Regions from separate parts of the Homo sapiens genome. Here region 1 is linked to region 2. The links are contacts of gene promoters, found by promoter capture Hi-C in human tissues and cell types (Jung and others, 2019). All regions are on one chromosome and are shown on one strand. The core of a region is centred on a gene start or on the middle of the fragment in contact, and the rest is flanking DNA. Distances in the headings are between cores, read along the strand shown. Region 1 overlaps HACL2 (2-hydroxyacyl-CoA lyase 2). Region 2 holds the start of TPM4 (tropomyosin 4).

What was found. The method cuts DNA at HindIII sites, captures the fragments that hold promoters and counts their contacts. A contact is called where the count stands out against the background at its distance.
Region 1: a contact is called between a fragment that was not itself captured here and the fragment with the promoter of TPM4 in region 2, in 1 of the 25 tissues and cell types used here (aorta).

The regions. Positions count from the first base shown.
Region 1 is chr19:15,116,725-15,123,468 of GRCh38, reverse strand. It overlaps HACL2 (2-hydroxyacyl-CoA lyase 2), which reads left to right. Exons shown (of 16, transcript NM_006844.5): 3 at 1-94; 4 at 226-353; 5 at 439-577; 6 at 665-776; 7 at 3,388-3,487; 8 at 3,954-4,051; 9 at 4,167-4,303; 10 at 5,454-5,588. Among named protein-coding and RNA genes, the nearest start is that of ILVBL-AS1, 4.1 kb to the left of the region's middle. The HindIII fragment of the contact is 6,371 bases long and covers 1-5,845 here.
Region 2 is chr19:16,070,727-16,077,813 of GRCh38, reverse strand. It overlaps TPM4 (tropomyosin 4), which reads right to left and starts at 1,319. Exons shown (of 8, transcript NM_003290.3): 1 at 1,117-1,319. The coding sequence starts at 1,248. RefSeq lists enhancers at 248-977, 978-1,705, 1,706-2,435, 5,954-6,518 and silencers at 760-1,669, 6,979-7,087. The HindIII fragment of the contact is 17,695 bases long and covers 1-7,087 here.

The sequences.
Region 1 (6,744 bases), core at 1,411-3,910, 960 kb after region 2:
CTGGTGGCCTGTGAGAAACTGGGCATCCGTGTGGTGGACACACGCCATGAGGTCACGGCCGTCTTTGCTGCTGATGCTATGGCCCGCCTGTCCGGTGAGGGCATTGCAGAGAGGGCTGGGGACTGGTTGGACTGTGGGCTAGAGTGTCTGTGAGGGTAGGGGTTTTTCAGAGGTGGAAGAATGGCCAAGAGAGTGGGCATGGCTGTGATGGGCTCTGTGTTCCAGGGACGGTGGGCGTGGCGGCAGTGACAGCAGGCCCTGGCCTCACCAACACGGTGACTGCGGTGAAGAATGCTCAGATGGCTCAGTCCCCAATCCTGCTTCTGGGTGGGGCTGCCAGCACTCTGCTGCAGGTACCCAGTCCTTGGGGGCCAGTGGGGGCCTAGGGGGGCTTGAAGGGCTCATGCGATAACCCTGCCACACCTCTGTCTTTGCCAGAACCGGGGTGCGCTCCAGGCTGTTGATCAGCTGTCCCTTTTCCGGCCACTCTGTAAGTTTTGTGTGTCTGTGCGGAGGGTGCGGGACATTGTGCCCACCCTGAGGGCCGCGATGGCTGCCGCCCAGTCGGGCACCCCAGGTAGGTGGAGGATGGTGATGCTGAGCAGTGCTGGGGCCGAGGGGCTGGGGACATGTTATGGACTCAGCGTCCTCCCTGTCCCTGCAGGTCCGGTGTTTGTGGAGCTGCCCGTTGACGTGCTGTACCCCTACTTCATGGTCCAGAAGGAGATGGTGCCAGCCAAGCCACCCAAGGGCCTCGTGGGCCGAGTGGTCTCCTGGTGAATAGCCCCACCCCTGCCATTCCCTCCTTTATCCCCCGTTCTCTCCTGCAGCTTCCAGCCCACACCCATCCTCCTTTGATTCACATGTGGACTGGGAGGAGACAGCTGGGGGGAGAGCATTCCAGGTAGAAGGAACAGCATGTGCAAAGGTCCTGAGGCAGGAATGAACTGGGTGGGTAGGGAAAGCAAGGCGGCCCTCGTGGAGGCAGCAAAGGGGAGAGGCTCAGGACAGCCCTCCTCCTCCTCCTTTTCCCTTTCTTCTCCTCCTCCATCATCTCTTCTTCCTCCTCTTCCTCCTCCCTCTTCCTTCCTCTTCTCCTCCCTTTCCCCCACCACCTTTCCCATCGTCCTCTCCGTTTTCCTCCTCCTAAAGGATGATCCTTGAACCTCGGAAGGGAGGTTCATTCTTACATTTACAGAGGAGGAAGCTCAGAAAGGTGAAGTCACTTGCCCAAAGTCACACAGCTAAGAAGTGGCAGAGCCCAGGCCGGGTGCGGTGGCTCTCACTTGTAATCCCAGCACATTGGGAGGCCGAGGTGGGCAGATCACGAGGTCAGGAGATCGAGACCATCCTGGCTAACATGGTGAAACCCCATCTCTACTAAAAATACAAAAAAAAAAAAAATTAGCCGGGCGTGGTGGCGGGCGCCTGTAGTCCCAGCTACTTGGGAGGCTGCGGCAGGAGAATGGCGTGAACCCAGGAGGTGGAGCTTGCAGTGAGCCAAGATCGTGCTACTGCACTCCAGCCTGGGTGACAGAGCAAGACTCCGTCTCAAAAAAAAAAAAAAAAGTGGCAGAGCCCAGACTCGAGCCCTCTCCTTCCTCCTCCTTTCCTTCCCTCACATCTTTGTCCTTTTCTTTCTTTTTTTTTTTTTTTGAAACAGATTCTTCGTTCTGTTGCCTAGGCTTGAGTGCAGTGGCGTGATCTCGGCTCACTGCAACCTCCGCCTCCCCCTGGGTTCAAGTGATTTTCCTGCCTCAGCCTTCTGAGTAGCTGGGACTACAGGCGCCCGCCACCACACCTGGCTAATACTTGTATTTTTAGTAGAGACGAGGTTTCATCATGTTGGCCAGGCTGGTCTTGAACTCTTAACCTCAAGTGATCCACCCTCCTCGGCCTCTCAAACATTACAGACATGAGCCACTGCGCCTGGCCTCTTCTCTTCTTCTTCTTCCTTTCCTTTCTTCTCCTCCTCCTCTTCCTCTTCTTCCTCCTTCTCTCCCTTCCCCTCAGTCCCTTCCCTTTGCCTGTCCTTGGCCCTTCCTTTCCATACATTTAGCGAGCGGCAGCCATGTGCCAGGTTCCAGGACAGGCACGGGGCATCATCAGTGGACAAGGTAGTCAGGCTCCTGTACTCCGGATGTGTGTGAAGCGCCTGAGGGTCAGCTCAGGCAGTAGTGATTTTGTTCTATGGCCTCTTTATTTTTTTTGAGACGGAGTCTCGCTTTGTCCCCCAGGTTGGAGCGCAGTAGTGCGATCTTGGCTCACTGCAACCTCCACCTCCCGGGTTCAAGTGATTCTCCTGCCTCAGCCCCCGGAGTAGCTGGGAATACAGGTGCAGTCCACCATACCCAGCTAATTTTTGTATTTTTAGTAGAGATGAGGTTTCACCATTTTGGTCATATAGCCTCATTCTTAATGCACTTTGCCCCCTGGCTTCCCAGTCAGTCCCTCCCCTTGTTCTCCTTGCCCCTCTCTCTTGGGCTGCCTCTCACAAGGCTATCTCTTATCTTGCCTTTTTTGTTTTGTTTTGTTTTGAGACAGGGCCTCACTCTATCACCCAGGCTGGAGTGCAGTGGTATGATCATAGCTCACCACAGCCTTGAACTCCTGGCCTCGAGCAATCCTCCTGCCTCAGCCTCCCTTGCCTTTTCTTTACTTGCGGGGCTTCCCACGGTTCCATCCTGGGCTGCTTCTGTGCTGTCTTGGCCTGTCCTTAACGGTGAAAGCAGAGGCTTCTGACTCTGAGCTCCGACTGTTTCCTGCCAATGCCCATGTGTCTGTCTTTCGCTGGATAGAGCGCCCCCTGAGGGGAGGGCTGGGCAGGATCTATCTTTGTGTCTCCAGGGCCCTGCACAGGTCCTTCAGGAAAGTTGGGGCCCTGGGGCCCAGTGAGCAAGGAGACCGAGAAGACCCTGTTTGAAGCAGGAGAGGACAGTGTTCAGAACTCCCATGCAAAGCGCCTCATGTCCTAAGTGGACAGATCCTTGAACCTGGGGAGGGAGGTTCATATTTACATTGACAGAGGTGGAAGCTCAGAAGGGTGAAGTCACTTGCCCTAAGTTGCACAGCTAGGAAGTGACAGAGCCAGGACTTGAGCTCACATCTGTTGGACCCACAGGCTTAATCCTGGCATGCTGAGCCTGCGTTCCTTGCTTCTGGGGGGCTACGTGGAGTTGGGGTGGACCCCAGAGGCTACCGAGGGCAAACAGGCAGTTGAAGACCTGGCCACTAGGGTTCGTCTGTCCCTGAGGTGTCACTCATCCACCCTGTCCCCATGCCACTTTGCTCCTGGCTTTTCTCCCGGCCCCTTTCCTTGCTCAGATCCTGGAATCCTTGTAGTTAGTTAATTCTGGCAACTTGGTTTCTTCCCCCTCCCTTTTGCAGGTATTTAGAGAATTACCTGGCCAACCTCTTTGCAGGAGCCTGGGAGCCTCAGCCCGAGGGACCGCTGCCCCTGGACATCCCCCAGGCTTCCCCGCAGCAGGTGAATTGCCTCTCTTTTGTGTCTGAGGACCCTACCCTCTCCCTGAGGGGAGAGGGCCCCCTGACCCTCTCCCTGAGTCAGTACTGGGGCCTTAATCTTGGGTGCTCATGGCGACTCAAGGGCGGCCCTTTGGCTGGACGCGGTGGCTCACAGCAGCAATCCCAACACTTAGGGAGGCCGAGGCAGGCGGATCACTTGAGGCCAGGAGTTCAAGACTAGCCTGGCCAACATGGTGAAACCCTGTCTCTACTGAAAATACAAAAGTTAGCCAGGCATGGTGGCACGCGCCTGTAATCCCAGCTACTCTGGAGGCTGAGGCGGGAGAATCGTTTGAACCTGGGAGGTGGAGGCTGCAGTGAGCTGAGATCATGCCATTACACTCTATCCTGGGCAACAGAGTGAAACTGTGTCTCAAAAAAATAAATAAATAAAAAGACAGCCCTTTGATCCCCACCTCTCGCTCCAGGTTCAGCGCTGTGTGGAGATCCTGAGCCGGGCCAAGAGGCCTCTGATGGTGCTGGGGAGTCAGGCCCTGCTCACCCCAACGTCTGCCGACAAGCTTCGGTGAGAAGCGCCAGCCCTGCCCTTGTTTTCACGTTCCCAGTCCCCAGTCCTCGGGTGCTCTTGGGGAGGCGGGAGGCCCCGGCCACACTGACCTCTGCTCTGCCTGGACTCCCAGGGCTGCCGTGGAGACCTTGGGTGTTCCCTGCTTCCTTGGAGGGATGGCACGGGGGCTGTTAGGCCGCAACCACCCCCTCCACATCCGGGAGAACCGCAGTGCGGCCCTGAAGAAGGCGGATGTCATTGTCCTAGCAGGTGGGCCTGAGCCTCTTCCTTTCCCTCCTTCCCCCAGGAACCCCCTCACCCTGTTACCCAGCTTCACACGAAGGAGGAGGAAGGTCTAGTGGGCACCTATTGTACTTGATACACATTTTCACATAAAGCGCTTTGAACCCAACCAGACGCATAATAGGTGTATCAGATAGCTACTGCCCTGTAACAACCATCCCCAAACTCAATGGCTAAAAATGCATTTCTGATTTCTCAAGATCCACCTATAAGGTAGGTGGTAGCTGTGGTTTTGGCTGGGCTCATTCATGAGTCTGCACTTGGGTTAGGCAGGAAGGCAGCTGTGCTGATCCAGGCTGGGCTTGCTCACCTGTATGGGGATTGGCTGGCCCTGCAGCTCGTCTGGGATGGCCTCAGCTGGGGTCATAGAGTTCTTCACCCCTGTCTCCATGGCCCCCTTGTTTCTCATCCTCCAGTAGGCTAGCCTGGGCTGGCCGACTTGGTGAAGGATGAGAAAACTATGGGGCTAGGAGAGTGCGGTTATTCAAGAGAGTGAGTGGAGGCTGTGTGGCTTCTTGAAGTAGAGTCTGCAGGAATGGGGGGTGGGGGTCCTGAATCATCTGGAGGTGTCTTCACTCAGAGGTCTTGCAATTGACGCCAGCTGTTGGAGGGGCTGTGGACTAGGGCAACTACACAGGTCTCTATGTGTGGCTCCGGTTTCCTCCCAGCATGATGGCCTCAGGGTAGTCAGACTTCTTAGACAGAGAGCACATTCCTTGGCCCCACCCAGGCCTCTAAAAGTGAACAAGGAAGAAACTGCATATCTTCCTTGTTGGGTGTCATGGTGTGTCACTTTCAAGGAAAGGGGACCTAGGCTGCACCTCTCTCCATGGGAGGCATGTCAAGGTGACCTTGTACAAATGGATGTAGGGTGGGAGATATTATGGCCATCTGGGAAAATATAACCTGCCTCTGCCCTATCCTGTTGGCCAAAGCATGTCATGAGGCCAGTCCCGATTCAGGGGGTGTGGGGAGCTGCAAGGTCACTGTAGGTGGCACAGGTGCAGGGAGACTCGGTGAGGAACAGGGACTCATTTGCATCCAGTCCACCACAGTGGATCAAGTAAGGTAGACGACATGGGGCCTCTGCCTACTGCATTCCTGTCCCCCACACCAGGAACTGTGTGTGACTTCCGCCTATCCTATGGCCGTGTCCTCAGCCACAGCAGCAAGATCATCATCGTCAATCGTAATCGGGAAGAGATGTTGCTCAACTCAGACATCTTCTGGAAGCCCCAGGAGGCTGTGCAGGGTGAGCCCCTTAATCCCCCCGTACACATATGTGCTCCTCCCAGTCCCTCTCCTCCTGGTTTCTGCTGCAGCTGGCTTGAGCCTGGTACAGTGATTGAGGCCCAGACCTTGCCCTAGGGGTAGCCAGTCAACCAGAGACAAATAGTTGGCTCTCAAACTGATGAATGCTTCTTTCTTTAAATTTTTTTTATTTTTATTTTTTAGAGACGAGGTCTCGCTCTGTCACCCAGGCTGGAATGCAGTAGTGCAATCACAGCTCACTGCACCCTCAAACTCCCAGGCTCAAAAGCAATCCTCCCACCTCAGCCTCCTGAGTAGCTGGGACTACAAGTATGCACCACCATGCCAGGCTAATTTGTTAATTTTTTTTTGTGGAATCAGCATCTCACTGTGTTGCCCAGGTTGGCGTGGAACTCCTGGCCTCAAGTGATCCTCCTGCCTCGGCCTCTCAAAAGTGCTGGGATTACAGACCAGAGCTACTGCGCCCGGCCTGATAGATGCTTCTGTAGGAACAAATGGTGGGGTGGACACAGAGGGAGGCTTGAAAACGTGCATGTGATCACGTTCCCTCCCACACTGCCCACTGCCCTCAGGACAGAGAGCACACTCGTTGGCCCCTTAGCCTGTCTTCCTGCCGTATCTCTCCCCTCCCCTTATTTTAGTCCCCTTGGACTTGAACTTGGTTCATCATTCTGAGGATGTTGACTCCCCTGCAGCCTAGGCGACAGGACACTCTTGTATTAAGCAGAGAAGTAGCACCGTTGCATCTGTGTTGGGAAGGTCCACTCAGCAGCCATGGACGGCAGGCCGGAAGGGGGCTGGGTGGAGGCCAGGGGGGCTGCTCAAAATGGCCAGGACAGAAGCGAGGAGGCCTGAACTGGAGATGAACAGCGGCAGAGCCTCACCTTCTCAGAGCCTCCATTTGATCATTTGAAAAATGGGGTGGTGAAAGATACATCACGGGGCTGTTTGTTAGTTCACTTCAGTAACGTTCGCTGTGCGCTTCCACGTGCCTGGATTTGAGAGATGTGCTTGGTGGATGTAGCTCTTTTCATTGAGTGTTTCCCAGGCAGAAGGAGGTGGAGGGAGGGGACGAGGCCAGCTTGGGTTTGTCACCTGCCTTGTGCTCCTTAACCCTTGTTTCTTGGGCCTTGTCT
Region 2 (7,087 bases), core at 70-2,569:
CTCCAGCCTGGGCGACAGAGTGAGACTGCCTCAAAAACAAAACAACAAAAAACAACAACACAATTGATTATTTACAAAGCGCCAGGCTCCACGCCTGAGATTTACTCCTGGGACCCTCCCTGCTACTCTGGGGGGTCGGGATTCTTATCAGTCCTACTCGCAGATGGGAAAAAAGCTCCTAGAGAGCAAATACCAAGTCATGAAGCCTGTGGGTGGCATGATATGGGACCAGAATCCAAATCTGTCCCCAGACCCTGGCGGTGCCACCATCTGTCCCGAGGGACAGCCAGGAGGATGATGCAGAGAGGATGGTGAAACTCCCTCCTTTTTCAGACCCATTGTTTATCTCGGGCCCTGCGACTCGCGGCGGAGGCGCACAGCAGGCGCTCAAACGATCGTGGGTTCAGGGCCCCGCGCCAGCGTTCCCGGGGCCTTCTGGAGAGAGGCAGGGTCCCGCCGCCCCGGTTCCCGCAGGAATCAGCTGGAGAAAGGCGGGCGGCTTGGGGCTGAACTTCCTCCACCCCCCATCCCCCCCGCCGCCTGGAGCAGACACGTCGCCGCCGCGCCCCTGGGAACGGTCAGGGAAGCAAGCAGAAGCCGGGAAGCCGCGAAAGAGGCGAGAAAGTGCGACCCCCTCCCCAGATCCCCGGTCCCCCGTCGAAATCCCTGTCGGCCGGTCAAACCCTAGACAATGGAAGCTCCACGTTTTCATCCTCATTCTCCCCCACAAGTCCGGTCGCGGGTTCCCCTCGGCCCGGGACCCCGGCGCCAGCCCCGGAGTCGGAGCCTGCACGATACGCCCCCTCCCGCCGCTCCACTTCTCCACCCGGAGATCGCTCACCCCCTCCGCCCCATCCCCCCATTTCCCGCTTGGCCGGCCCCGCCCGACCCGGAGGCGGCGCCCCCTCCCCTGTCCCAGGCCCAGGAAGGAGGACGGCGGAGGAAGTAGGGGGTCCTGGCTGCGGGCGCAGGGATGTGGGTCGGCGATCGGCGTCCGAGGGCGTAAAAAGGCGGCCCGAGGACTGCGCGCGGGCGGGCAGCGCGGGAAGCCGGGAAGAAAGGAGGGCGCGCGGGGGAGGAGGCTGCGGGTGCGGGGCCCGAGGCCGGGGCGCTCACTTTCTCGCGCCGCTCGCGCTCGCCGTCCAGCTCCCGCTGCAGGCCCTGCGCGCGGTCTTCCGCCTCGTCCGCCTGCTGCTGCAGGGCCTGGATCTTGCGTTTCACCGCCTCCAGGGAGTTGAGGCCGGCCATGGCGCGGAGGCGCAGAGGCGCACGGGCAGCGGCGGACGCTCGGCTGGGCTCGGCTCCGGCGAGAGCTGCACAGCCGCGCCCCGGCCCCCCAAGCCTTTGCCTGCGCGGGGGCCGCCCCCGCCTCTCCCCGCCCCCCGGGCCGGCTGCCGTCGGGGCGATGAGGTCACCCGGCCGGACCGCCGACGTCAGCACCGCTGGGGGAGGGCCTGACGTCGGCACCGCTGGCCACAGCTGCTGGAAAGTGCCCCTTTTCGGGACTTATTTGGAGAAAGCGCTGGGAGGCGCCGCCTTCTCCTCCTCCTCTTCCTCCTCCCCCTGCGGCTCTCCCCGCCTTCCCGGCCCCGGGGCTCCGGCCTGGCCCCGCCGCGGGCTCCCGCATCCCTGCACACGTACGTCGGAGGCCTTCTTCTCCGTGAGCTCCAGCTTCTCCTGCGCGTCCTTCAGGTCCTCGGAATATTTATCCAGCTCGTCCTCTGTCCCTTTTAGTTTCTTCTGGAGGTGCGTCAGCTCCTCCTCCACCTGGGGACGACAGAGCGAGGAACGGGTCAGCCTGGGGGGGGGGTCACGTCCCCGAGGTGCAGGGGCGGTCCCCCCCAATATTCACAAGAGTCCTCCGTCTCTCTCTGGGCATCAGTTTCCTTATCTGTAGAACAGGGGTTGCGATAGCATGCACCACGCCATCCATGCTACCTGATAGTGGGATTTTCACATCTTTCCCTCGTCCTGAGGACCAGCTGTTTTGGGCTTATTGGGGTCCCCAGTACTCTAGGGAGATCAATGGCAGCTTTTGGGAAACTGAAGACTCCAAATGTTTTCCAGAAATACACACATTCCAGTTTCAGAGGTGCAGCCTCACCATGATCTGGAGTTAAGCAATCTCATTCTCTGCGCGTGGATCCCTCCGCCCATCCCTGTCCCCAGCCTTTCTCCCTCTGGTTCTGACCCCAACACGGGGTCAGAGAAACTTTCTAACAAATACGCCTGCCCTCTTTCTGCCTAGAACCTGCTATGGCTCCCTATGGCCCAAGGCAGTGGTTCTTAGACTGTCTTACCAAAATACTCTGAAGGGCTGAAGGGCTCAGACCTAGTCCCTCATTTCTGGGCTTTGGGGAGCTTGGCTAGAAGAGACTCGCCCCTACAGGATCACTTTCTTTGAAGGCTCGGGTTAAATCTTTAAAATTTTTGCATATAGGCCATGTTCATTTTAATAAAAATGTCCCCTACTTTCCCTAAATTTTCAGTCCTCTGTTTATCCCAAGAGTCCTATCCTCCCATCACTCCTAGTTTGAGAAGCTCAGGCCTATGGATTACAAACCACAGACCCCATCACCTCTCTTTGTCACCCCCCACCACACCGGTCTAGAGTTGGCTCAAGAAGACTTTTCTGTCACCTCCAGGCTGAAACTCCCTCCCTGGGCCCCCAACTCTGGATTAGGGTGATCATATCCAGCTCATGCCTGGATCTGACTTTTTTTTTTGAGAGTCTCGCTCTGTCACCAAGGCTGGAGTGCAGTGGCACGATCTCAGCTCACTGCAACCTCCGCCTCCTGGGTTCAAGTGATTCTCCTGCCTCAACCTCCCCGGTAGCTGGTACTACAGGTGCACACCACCACGACTGACTAATTTTTGTATTTTCAGTAGAGACAGGGTTTTGCAATATTGGCCAGGCAGGTCTCAAACTCCTGACCTCAAGTGATCTGCCCGCCTCGGCCTCCCAAATTGCTGGGATTGCAGGCGTGAGTCGCCACACCTGGCTTGGATCTGACTTTTGCCTTAGATGGTTTGACACTGATCTTGTTCCTGCTCCCAGGGTGGGCAGACAGCCCCCACTGAGCCCAGCTTCATTCTCCTGCTTCCTCCCCACAGCAGGAGGCTCAGAGAGGTGGGATGACTTTCCCCAGGTCACACAGCACAGGGTTTGAGCCCAGGTCTTCTGGAATATAAGCCTATAATGAACTGAATGCTTGCTTTTGCCCCCTCTCCAATTCATGTGTTGAAGCCCTCATCTCCATGTGATGGTAATTGGTGATGGGGCCTTTGGAAGATGATGAGGTTTGGGTGAGGTCATGAGGGTTGACCCACCATGATGGGATTAAGGCCCTTATGAGAAGAGGCCAGAACTTGGTTATCCTCTTCCAATGTGAGGACACAGCAAGAAGGTGGCTGTCTGCAAGCTAGCTAGAGAGCGCTCACCAGACATTTAATCTGCCAGCATCTTGATCTTGGACATCTAGCCTCCAGACTGTAAACAATAAATGTCTATTACTGAAGCTACCCAGTCTATGGTGTTTTGTTATAACTGCCTGAGCTGACAAAGACAAAGCCCTTGGCCCTGTTCCTCACACTAGGCCAGCTTCCCTTCCTCCCTCTCTGACTTGCTTCTCTTCTTTTTTTTCTTGAAGAGGGTATGTTAAAAAAGCTGCTGTGCCCGTGGCTTCTAGACTGAGCTCTGAATCCTGTCTGGGCTACGTGCTCACCCCTGAGTGGATGTGCAAAATGTACCAGGTGCCCCATATGTGTGTGTGTGTGTATGTTTTTTTTTTGCCTTTTTTTTTTTTAACCTGATCTTGCTGTGTGTGTGTGTGCATTATTTTTTTTTTTTGCGTTTTTTTTTTTTTTTTTTTTTTACATGGTCTTCCTGTGTCTCCCAGGCTGGAGTGCAGTGGTGTGATCATAGCTTACTGCAGCCTTGACCTCCTCGGCTCAAGCGATCCTCCCGCCTCAGCCTCCTGAGTAGCTGGAAAGTGTGAACTCCAGGCTTCCCATCTTGCGGCCTGCTGGGTGTCAGCTGGAGGATGGGGTGGAGGCTGGCAGCTGGAGGTTCAGCTGATGTCACTGAGGTGACCTGCAAGGGTCTCTAGCTGAGATGTGACAGAGAGCAGGGAGGGCTATCCTGTCTGAAGTCCTCAGGAGCATCCCAAGCTATGGGGAGATGACAGGGCCCAATCCAGGGTGGCCAGCTGATCAGGGCAGGGTCAGAGTCTATAGGGCCTGACCTTGACCTCCGGGTGGGGAGCCTGGAAGCCTGACTCCAAATCCAAGCTCTGCGACCCCCGTCCCCTTTTCTGGCCTCAGATTCTCCATCTGCAGAACAGAAACCTTGACATGCTGGTCTCTGAGCATTCCGGCAGCTGCTTTTGAACTTCTGCCTTGACTGAGAAAATGAGCCAGTTTCCTTAAAGACGTTTCATAGGTCAACCCTGACCTACAGCATCCACCTGACTTCCTTCCAGATCTGTGGATCACAGCATTTATTGGGTGCCAACTGTGTGCCCAACACAGGACTCTCCTAACATGTAGGAAGAGTGAGAGCAAATCTGACAGCATGGACTCATCAGGGTATGAAGATGGTTTGGGTGTTTTGTTTTGTTTTTGTTTTTGTTTTTTTGAGATAGGATCTCGCTGTGTTATCCAGGCTGGTCTCGAACTCCTGGGCTCAAGGGATCCTCCCACTTCAGCCTCCCGAGTAGCTGGGACAACAGGCATGAGCCACCCCACCTGGCTGGTTTGGGGTTTTTTTGTTTGGTTTGGGGTTTTGACTACTTTTTTGGGGGAAATGTTTGGGCAAGAACATGTGAGGACAGGGATAAGGCCGACAGGGGGCTATCTGGCATTTAGAATGTGTTGGGCGTGTTACAATTTGTTTTGATATATTTTTTGAGACAGAGTCTTGCTCTGTTGCCTAGGCTGGAGTGTAGTGGCTGGATCTCAGCTCACTGCAACTTCCACCTCCCTGGCTCAAGTGCTTCTCCTGCCTCAACCTCCCTAGTAGCTGGGATTACAGGCTCATGCCACCAAGCCCAGTTAATTTTTGTATTTTTTGTAGAGACAGGGTTTTGCCAGGCTGGTCTCGAACTCCTGACCTCAGGTGATCCCCCACCTCAGCCTCCTGAAGTGCTGGGATTACAGGTGTGAGCCACTATGCCTGGCCAGGGCGTGTTACAAATATTGTCTCAGGGAAGCCCCATACTACAGAAGGGCAAACTGAGTCTCTGAAAGGGGAAGGGACTTGCCTGATGCCACACAGATGGGGGATTTGAATCTTTGTTAGTCTGATTCCAAAGCTGGTTTGCTTGACTTCTAGACCATGCTGGACCCACTGCTAAGAATGACTTTCTACTTTTCACTGGGAGGGCATCTACCGTCCCTCCATGCTCAGTCCCAAGGCTCCCCAACCCTGGTGGCCTGCTCTGCTGCCCTGAGCAGAGCTTTCGCCACGCCTACAGCTGTCCCAGCCTCTGTCCCTCCCTCTGGTCCGGCCCTGACCTCTGAGCTGGAGGTATTCATGGTCTGTCTCCCTCAGCTTGGAGTTTCTTGAGGGTCAGTTCTGGGACTGAGGCCACTATGGGCCCCAGCATTAGAACACTGTAGGAAGTGTTTGGGATGAATCGAAGACACAACCCCAAACCCTTCAGTGGTAGGCAGTGAGGATAAAAAATAAATGAGAGCTGGGCGCAGTGGCTCACGCCTGTAATTCCAGCACTACGGGAGGCCGAGGCGGGCGGATCACGAGGTCAGGAGTTTGAGACCAGCCAGACCAACATGGTGAAACCCCGTCTTTACTAAAAATACAAAAATTAGCCGGGCCTGGTGGCGCGTGCCCGTCATTGTCCCTCTGTGAGCCTCAGTTTCCCTATCTGTCATAGGATTACCTTAGTCCCTGCAAATGGGGCCTTGGGGCAGGGCTGAGGCAGGATGTGGGGTCAAAGGCCAGTGGTGGAGGATGTTGCTGCCCTGGGAGGGGAGTGGGCAGGAAGCGGCCGGGCTGGGCCTCTTTGTCCTTTTCCCACACTGGGTAAGCAGGGCCAGAAATCAGTGCTTGGCTGCTGGGATCAGGCTGGCCCGAGAGCTGCTCTCTCTGGCCTCCTGCAGCGTCAGGCGCTCTAAGTGCCTCTATTCCCCAGCAGGACTGGCCGTTAGCTCCTGTGGGGCGCTGGCTTCTGCTTCGGAATTCTGGGATCTTGAGTTCCACACCTGAACTTCAGAAGGCCTCACGTGTTCCCATTTCACAGATGAGGACACTGAGGGCTCAGAAATGTGCAGGAACGTGTCCTCAGTCATGAAGCTAGGAGAGTCACAAAGACCAGGCTCCGTGGCTCAAGTCTGTGATCCCAGCACTTTGGGAGGTTGAGGTGGAAGGATCACTTGAGCCCAGGAGTTCAAGACTAGCCTGGGCAATAGTGAGACCCTGTCTCTACTAAAAATAAAATAACTAGCTGGGCGTGGAGGTGTGCACCTCCACTGGGGAGGCTGAGGTGGGAGGATCGCTTGAGCCCTAGGAGTTTGAGGCTGCAGTAAGCTGTGATTGCACCACTGCACTCCAGCCTGGGCAACAGAGTGAGACCCCCATCTCTAAAAAATAAAAATACATTTAAAGACTGATATACACAAAGTATGTGCTAGTCTATGGAGGTTTGCCTGAAAGCTAGTCTGTGTAGACTTGCTTTGAGCCCAAGTCTACTCCAGTGGGCATCTTTGTGGGACAAAAAAGGCATAACCTCCTTGGCCACGCAGCTGGCTGGAGGCTTTGAGGATTCTTCCTTTTTGAACTTGTGGCTGTCCTGGGAGATAGCCACTCACACCTTAGTAAGAATTAGTGCTATAAACTTGTTTCTCTCCGAATCTCTGGCTAAGTCCCTCATGGTGAGGGCTAAATGATGGCTAGAAGCTGGCCCAGCACAGGATGAATGTCTGTGTTTGCCAGGGAGGGGCACAGAGAAGGCGGAGAGAGCTTGTGGCAGGGAACACTGGGGTGGGGCTTGGCCTGCACGAATGTGCCACATACTCTTAGGGCAGCCCTGGGGCACGGGGGGCTGGGGAGGCCCAAAGGGGAAGTAGG